Regions from separate parts of the Homo sapiens genome. Here region 2 is linked to region 1. Evidence: promoter capture Hi-C in human tissues and cell types (Jung and others, 2019). All regions are on one chromosome and are shown on one strand. Each heading gives the region's core, a stretch centred on a gene start or on the middle of the fragment in contact. The rest is flanking DNA. Distances are from core to core; before and after follow the strand shown. Region 1 holds the start of BCDIN3D (BCDIN3 domain containing RNA methyltransferase). Region 2 overlaps TUBA1C (tubulin alpha 1c).

Region 1 (3,226 bases), core at 649-3,148:
AGGGCCTATCTTTGCTTCTGGAGGAACCCCAGGGTCAGGAGTTCTTGCCATTCACTGTCCTGGAAGCAAGGTGATTCCAGCTCCTTGAAAATTGTTAATTATTTGTGCTAGCTTCATCTAGTGACAAAAAGAGGTAAGTTCAGCTCAGCTCACCAAAATTTGTCAAAACGGTGCAGCTTTTTCTCCTTTTCTGTAATTGTGCAGAATACTGTGGTTTACTAAATTCCAGAGTGACTTTTATTAACTTGTGTCCTCAAATAAGTGAAACTAGAGAAACAGCAGGCCAGATAGAGATGAAAATATAAAGGCTGGGCGTGGTGGCTCTCGCCTGTAATCCCAACACTTTGGGAGGCCGAGGTGGGCAGATCACGAGGTCAGGAGTTCGAGACCAGCCTGGCCAACATAGTGAAACCCCGTCTCTACTAAAAAATACAAAAACTTAGCCAGGAATGGTGGCGGGTGCCTGTAATTCCAGCTACTTGGGAGGCTGAGGCAGGAGAATCACTTGAACCTGGGAGGCAAAGGTTGCAGTGAGCCGAGATCATGTCATTGCACTCCAGCCCAGGCAATAGTGTGAGACTCTATCTCAAAAAAAGGAGAAAAGAAAAAGAAAATATAAAGTAAAAACTGAGAGGAAAACAGCGCTTATTTTAACTCCTGATGGTACTGTTTGCAGGAGTCATGCTCCAGTGCCTTATAAGAAGTTTACCGAACTGCCAGCCTCATGGAGCAGGATACCCCTTTAAGATGGGTGGGCCAGGTGCAGGGGTGGGGTTGGGGGTCCTGCACAACTCTGCTGATGCTTGGTTGACCCTGACGGATATTCTGGGCCATCCTGGCTTTTGACTGGAACCTGCTACCTAGGTTGACCCTTCAGTTCCTCTCCTTATCAGCTCTGTTATTTCCAATCTCTGAGTCACATCTTGCCCAACTCCATTCCACTATGTCTGCTTCAGTTGGCATCCTTTCTCCCTTCCATTTAAAGTTTCCCCAAACAGATCTGGCCTTATTGTATTCTCTATTGAGTTTTCATTCAACAACATTTGTTGAGCATCTTTGTGCCAGGCCCATGTTAAGTATAGGAGACTCAAGGCTGAGAATAACACACCGTTGCAAGCACATCCTCTGGATCCAAACTCCCTGGGTTCGAATCCTAGTACCATCATTTCTAACTGTGGGATCTTGGACAAGTTACTTTGTTTTACTCCAGTGTCCTCATCTATATAAAAAGAATAATAATACGGTCATTTTCTCACGGGGTGAGAGGATTGACTAAGGAGCTTACAAGGGTGTCTGGTGCCTGGTAAGCACTCTTTAAGTGCTGGCTCTTAAGGCACGGTCCTTGCCTCTCAAGGAGCTCATGGTCTACAGTTGCCCCTGGGGGACAGGGCTGAGTCGGCTGGCTTCGCAAGTGACCTGCACCTCCTGGCTACCCTTTCCTGAACCGGGTGGAAGTTTTTGAGTCACAGATTCAATGTATGACCCCAGACAAGTAAGTTCTCTCGGTCTCACTTTTTGCATTTATAAAGAAAGGAAATTGGACTAAAATTGATTTCCAAGATCCCAACAAACTAGTATACTTGTTCTGGGTCAAGTAGCCCAAGTTTCAAACTATGTCAGCTTGGCCAAGACACTTAGCCCTCAGAGTTTGTTTCATCCCTGTAAAACGTGGATGATATTGCTAATCCCCTCCCAGTGTTGTGATGAGGGTTCAATAATACAAGGCAAGCCCCAGGCGCTCGCCGGCTCCAGGTATACAGCGAGAGGAAATCAGGACAGCTTTTCTGATTCACCGCAGAATTCTAGCCACCCGCCCTAGCCGTTCGACGCACGCGCGCTGGCACCGCCACCGCCCACGCCGACAGCAGGTTCCCGGCTTCCGGTTCCGCCACGGCCCAGAGGCTGTGTTGAGGCTAATGGCGGTGCCCACGGAACTGGATGGAGGGAGTGTTAAGGAGACCGCAGCGGAAGAGGAATCGCGAGTTCTGGCACCTGGCGCCGCCCCGTTCGGAAATTTTCCTCATTATTCTCGCTTCCACCCTCCGGAGCAACGGCTCCGCCTCCTGCCCCCGGAGCTGCTTCGACAGCTCTTTCCTGAGAGTCCCGAGAACGGGCCGATTCTGGGGCTCGACGTGGGGTGTAACTCCGGGGTGAGTGACAGGGGAGGGATTGGAGCATCCGGAGCCAAGTGGTTGGCTGCCTACACATCCACTGTGGTTCTGGCCTGGGCTAACACCCATCGAAACTTTCCCAAAACGAGTATAAAGCGTGGCTTTGACTGAGCCAGTGCCGCTGCTGCCTGCCCGCCAGGGTTCCACCATCTGTCTTAGGAATCTCTCTTGGAGAGGAGTCCTTGTCGACTACGTTCCCACTTTTCTTTCAGGGCCAGACCCCAGGTGGGAACGGTCCTTGTATCTAGGGTGGCCTCTGTCCAGCGTGCCTGGCGCTTTGGCTGGGGAGAGGGGGCTTCCAGAGACACACGTTTGGGAACATGGGGTTAGGTTTGGTTTACTGGGAGAGAAGAGCCAAGGGTGACAGAATCATGCCTGATATTGAGACTCATGTGTGCTATACAGTGCAGGACAGACCCTGGGACCTGCATGTTTATTTCAAAAAAAGTGAGTAGGCCGGGCGCGCTGGCTCACGCCTGTAATCCCAGCACTTTCGGAGGCCGAGGCGGGTGGATCACAAGGTCACGAGATCGAGACCATCCTGGCTAACACGGTGAAACCCCGTCTCTACTAAAAATACAAAAAATTAGCCGGTCGTGGTGGCGGGCGCCTGTAGTCCAGCTACTCCGGAGGCTGAGGCAGGAGAATGGCGTGAACCCGGGAGGCGGAGCTTGCAGTGAGCCGAGCTAGTGCCACTGCACTCCAGCCTGGGCGACAGAGCGAGACTCCGTCTCAAAAACAAAACAAAACAGTGAGTTGACAGAGTACAGTGGAGAGGATCGAGAAGCAAATAAAGCATTTTGCCCAAGGGAATGGAGAAGGGCGGCACTGCCACTCTTCTTGCTGCAAACTATTCTTAGGCATATGATTATAATCAAACCACATGCAAAATAAGGAAATGTCTCTCCCACACCTATTTGTAGCCACTGGGATATTCTACACTAGCAGGCAGTCTGAACTTACCACGGCAAATGCTTCAAAAGTTAGTACCCTCTCTGCGCTCCCTCCATCACTCCAGTCCAGCATCTGGAGGGCGGGGGACAATTCTGTTACGT
Region 2 (3,148 bases), core at 340-2,839, 570 kb after region 1:
CTCTAAACAATAACCCCTTTAGTACGAACCATCTTTGCCACTGTAGGTCTTAGCTAAGTATGGAATAAATCAGGATTCCAAGCCCTTCTCGTGTGACTAATACTTTATTAAAGACTGACAGCAATAGTTCTGGCAGTGTGGCTGGGCACTTGAATTTTGGCTCCAGCAGTTACTGTTATCTAACCCTTTGCTACTGTACATGTGGTCACATCAGACCAACAGCATCATTTGGGAGGTTATTAAAAAACGTATCTAGGGGCCAGGTGTAGTGGCTCACTCCTGTAATCCCAGCACTTTGGGAGGCTGAGGCAGGATTGCCTGAGCCCAGGAGTTCAAGGCCAGCCTAAGCAACATGGCAAAACCCCATCTCTACCAAAAAAAAAAAAAAAAAAAAAAAAAAAAATTACAAGAATCAGCCAGGCATGGTGGAACACACCTGTAGTCCTGGCTACTTGGGAGGCTGAGGTGGGAGGATGGCTTAGCCCAGGTCAAGGTGGGGGTGAGCTATGATGGTGCCATTGCACTGCAGCCTGGGAAAGAGACCATCTCAAAGAAAAAAAATTTAAGACGTGTCTGAAGCCTCACCTCAAGCCTATAGAATTAGAACCTGCATTTTGTTTTTAAATTTGAGAGTCAGGGGTCTCCGTCACCCAGGCTGGAATGCAGTGGTGCAATCATGGCTCACTACCTCAACCTCCTTGGGCTCAGGTGGTCCTCCCACCTATAGGCAGGTGCCATCACAGCATGCAAATTTTTGTTTTGGTAGAGATGGGTTTTCACCATGTTGCCCAGGCTGGTCTCGAATTCCTGGGCTCGTGATCCACCCAACTTGGCCTCCCGAAGTGCATGAGCCACCAGGTTGACCCCAAACCTGCATTTTAATATCTACAGGTGATTCACATCCATTTTAGTTAGAGAAGCACTGGCTCAATCTGAACCCGTTTCCTCACTTACAAAATGATTCTATAACCACTTAATTCAGGCCCAAATTAAACAGATAAACCAAGAAGCTGGGCAGTGGCTCATGCCTATAATCAAAACTTTGAGAGGTTGAGGCAGGAGGATCACTTGAAGCCAGTTGAAGACCACCCTGGGCAGCATAGCAAGGCCCCATCTCTACAAGAAATAAAAATAGCTGGGCATGGTGGTGTGCACCTGCAGTCCCCAGCTACTTAGGAGGCTGAAGCAGGAGAATCACATGAGTCCAGGAGCTCGAGGCTGCAATGAGCTATGTATTATCATGCCACTGCACTCCAGCCTGGGTGACAGAGCAAGACCCTCGACTCAGGTGGTTTCATCTACCAGCCTCATACATCCAACTTTAACTGGATCAAGTATTTAAGTCAGCTCGACATTTAAAATGGAAACTTCAATTTTATTAACAATTTACGGCAATAGACATTTACAGAACAAAAATAAGACAGTTCCAAGACAAAGGAGTGTAAAAGTACAGCACACAGGTTAATACTCTTCACCCTCATCCTCTCCGTCAGCACTATCTGCTCCAACCTCCTCATAATCCTTCTCAAGGGCAGCCATGTCCTCACGGGCCTCTGAAAACTCGCCTTCCTCCATCCCCTCACCCACGTACCAGTGAACAAAGGCACGCTTGGCATACATCAGGTCAAACTTGTGGTCCAGGCGAGCCCAGGCCTCGGCAACAGCTGTGGTATTGCTCAGCATGCACACAGCTCTCTGTACCTTGGCCAGGTCTCCGCCAGGCACCACAGTGGGAGGCTGGTAATTAATGCCAACCTTGAAGCCAGTGGGGCACCAATCCACAAACTGGATGGTACGCTTGGTTTTGATGGTGGCAATGGCAGCATTGACATCTTTGGGAACCACGTCACCACGGTATAACAGGCAGCAAGCCATGTATTTACCATGGCGAGGGTCACATTTCACCATCTGGTTGGCTGGCTCAAAGCAAGCATTGGTGATCTCTGCTACAGTAAGCTGTTCGTGGTAGGCTTTCTCAGCAGAGATGACAGGGGCATATGTGGCCAGAGGGAAGTGGATGCGGGGGTAGGGCACCAGGTTGGTCTGGAATTCTGTCAGGTCAACATTCAGGGCTCCATCAAATCTCAGGGAAGCAGTGATGGAGGACACAATCTGGCTAATAAGGCGGTTAAGGTTAGTGTAGGTTGGGCGCTCGATATCGAGGTTTCTACGACAGATGTCATAGATGGCCTCATTGTCTACCATGAAGGCACAATCAGAGTGCTCCAGGGTGGTGTGGGTGGTGAGGATGGAGTTGTAGGGCTCAACTACAGCTGTGGAAACCTGGGGCGCCGGGTAAATGGAGAACTCCAGCTTGGACTTCTTGCCATAATCAACTGAGAGACGTTCCATGAGCAGCGAGGTGAACCCAGAACCAGTTCCCCCACCAAAGCTGTGGAAAACCAAGAAGCCCTGAAGACCGGTGCACTGGTCAGCCTGCAAAATAAAAAAGTTTCATTTTAGTGTTGCGAAAGTTTCATTTAGTGTTCACATTTGGTGAAACCTACAGAGGACTTCTATAAATCTATGGCTACTCCAATTGCAATTTTAAAACTCTTCTGGGCCAGGCGCAGTGGCTCACGCCTGTAATCAACACTTTGGGGGTCCAAGGTGGGAGGACCATTTGCATTTGAGCCCAGGGGTTCAAGACTGATGATCAGGCCACTGCACTCCAGCCTGGATGACAGAGCAGACCCTGTCTCCAAAAAAAAAAAAAAGCTTTTAAGTGCTAAGTGATTCAGAACAACTTTTCACAATCAAGTCCTTGAGCAGAAAAACCTTTGCTAAGACTATTTTAAGATGAACTATTGCCTTAGGCAGAGGAATCACAAGGCCTGGGCTTGCATACAGGGCTCAAGTTTTGGTAACTGGGAAGGCAGCCTCTGGTTCTCTTGCTGTGGCCACAGAACAGGGCAGTTTCTTAGTTGGAGAGGTCCTAAGGGGCAGGCCCAGGACCACCAGCCTGGTACAGTGGATGTCTTGTAAAGATTTGGCAGCTGCTTTCTGAGGTGGAACAACAGAATAGCCAAAGTTCTAACACCCTGGTACTGGAGTCAGGCTGTGTCAGGATCCGGCTGTACCAGTTCCTTACTGTATGACCACATTCATTTCTCAGTTCTTCCACTGATTAAGTGAGAATAGTAATCAC

What was found. The method cuts DNA at HindIII sites, captures the fragments that hold promoters and counts their contacts. A contact is called where the count stands out against the background at its distance.
Region 2: a contact is called between a fragment that was not itself captured here and the fragment with the promoter of BCDIN3D in region 1, in 1 of the 25 tissues and cell types used here (dorsolateral prefrontal cortex).

Annotation. Positions count from the first base shown.
Region 1 is chr12:49,841,778-49,845,003 of GRCh38, reverse strand. BCDIN3D (BCDIN3 domain containing RNA methyltransferase) reads left to right here and starts at 1,898. Exons shown (of 2, transcript NM_181708.3): 1 at 1,898-2,150. The coding sequence starts at 1,917. RefSeq lists enhancers at 1,556-1,615, 2,186-2,555. The HindIII fragment of the contact is 12,873 bases long and covers 1-3,226 here.
Region 2 is chr12:49,271,541-49,274,688 of GRCh38, reverse strand. It overlaps TUBA1C (tubulin alpha 1c), which reads right to left. Exons shown (of 4, transcript NM_032704.5): 4 at 89-2,436. The coding sequence ends at 1,462. Among named protein-coding and RNA genes, the nearest start is that of TUBA1C, 8.0 kb to the right of the region's middle. RefSeq lists a silencer at 409-703. The HindIII fragment of the contact is 6,713 bases long and covers 1-3,148 here.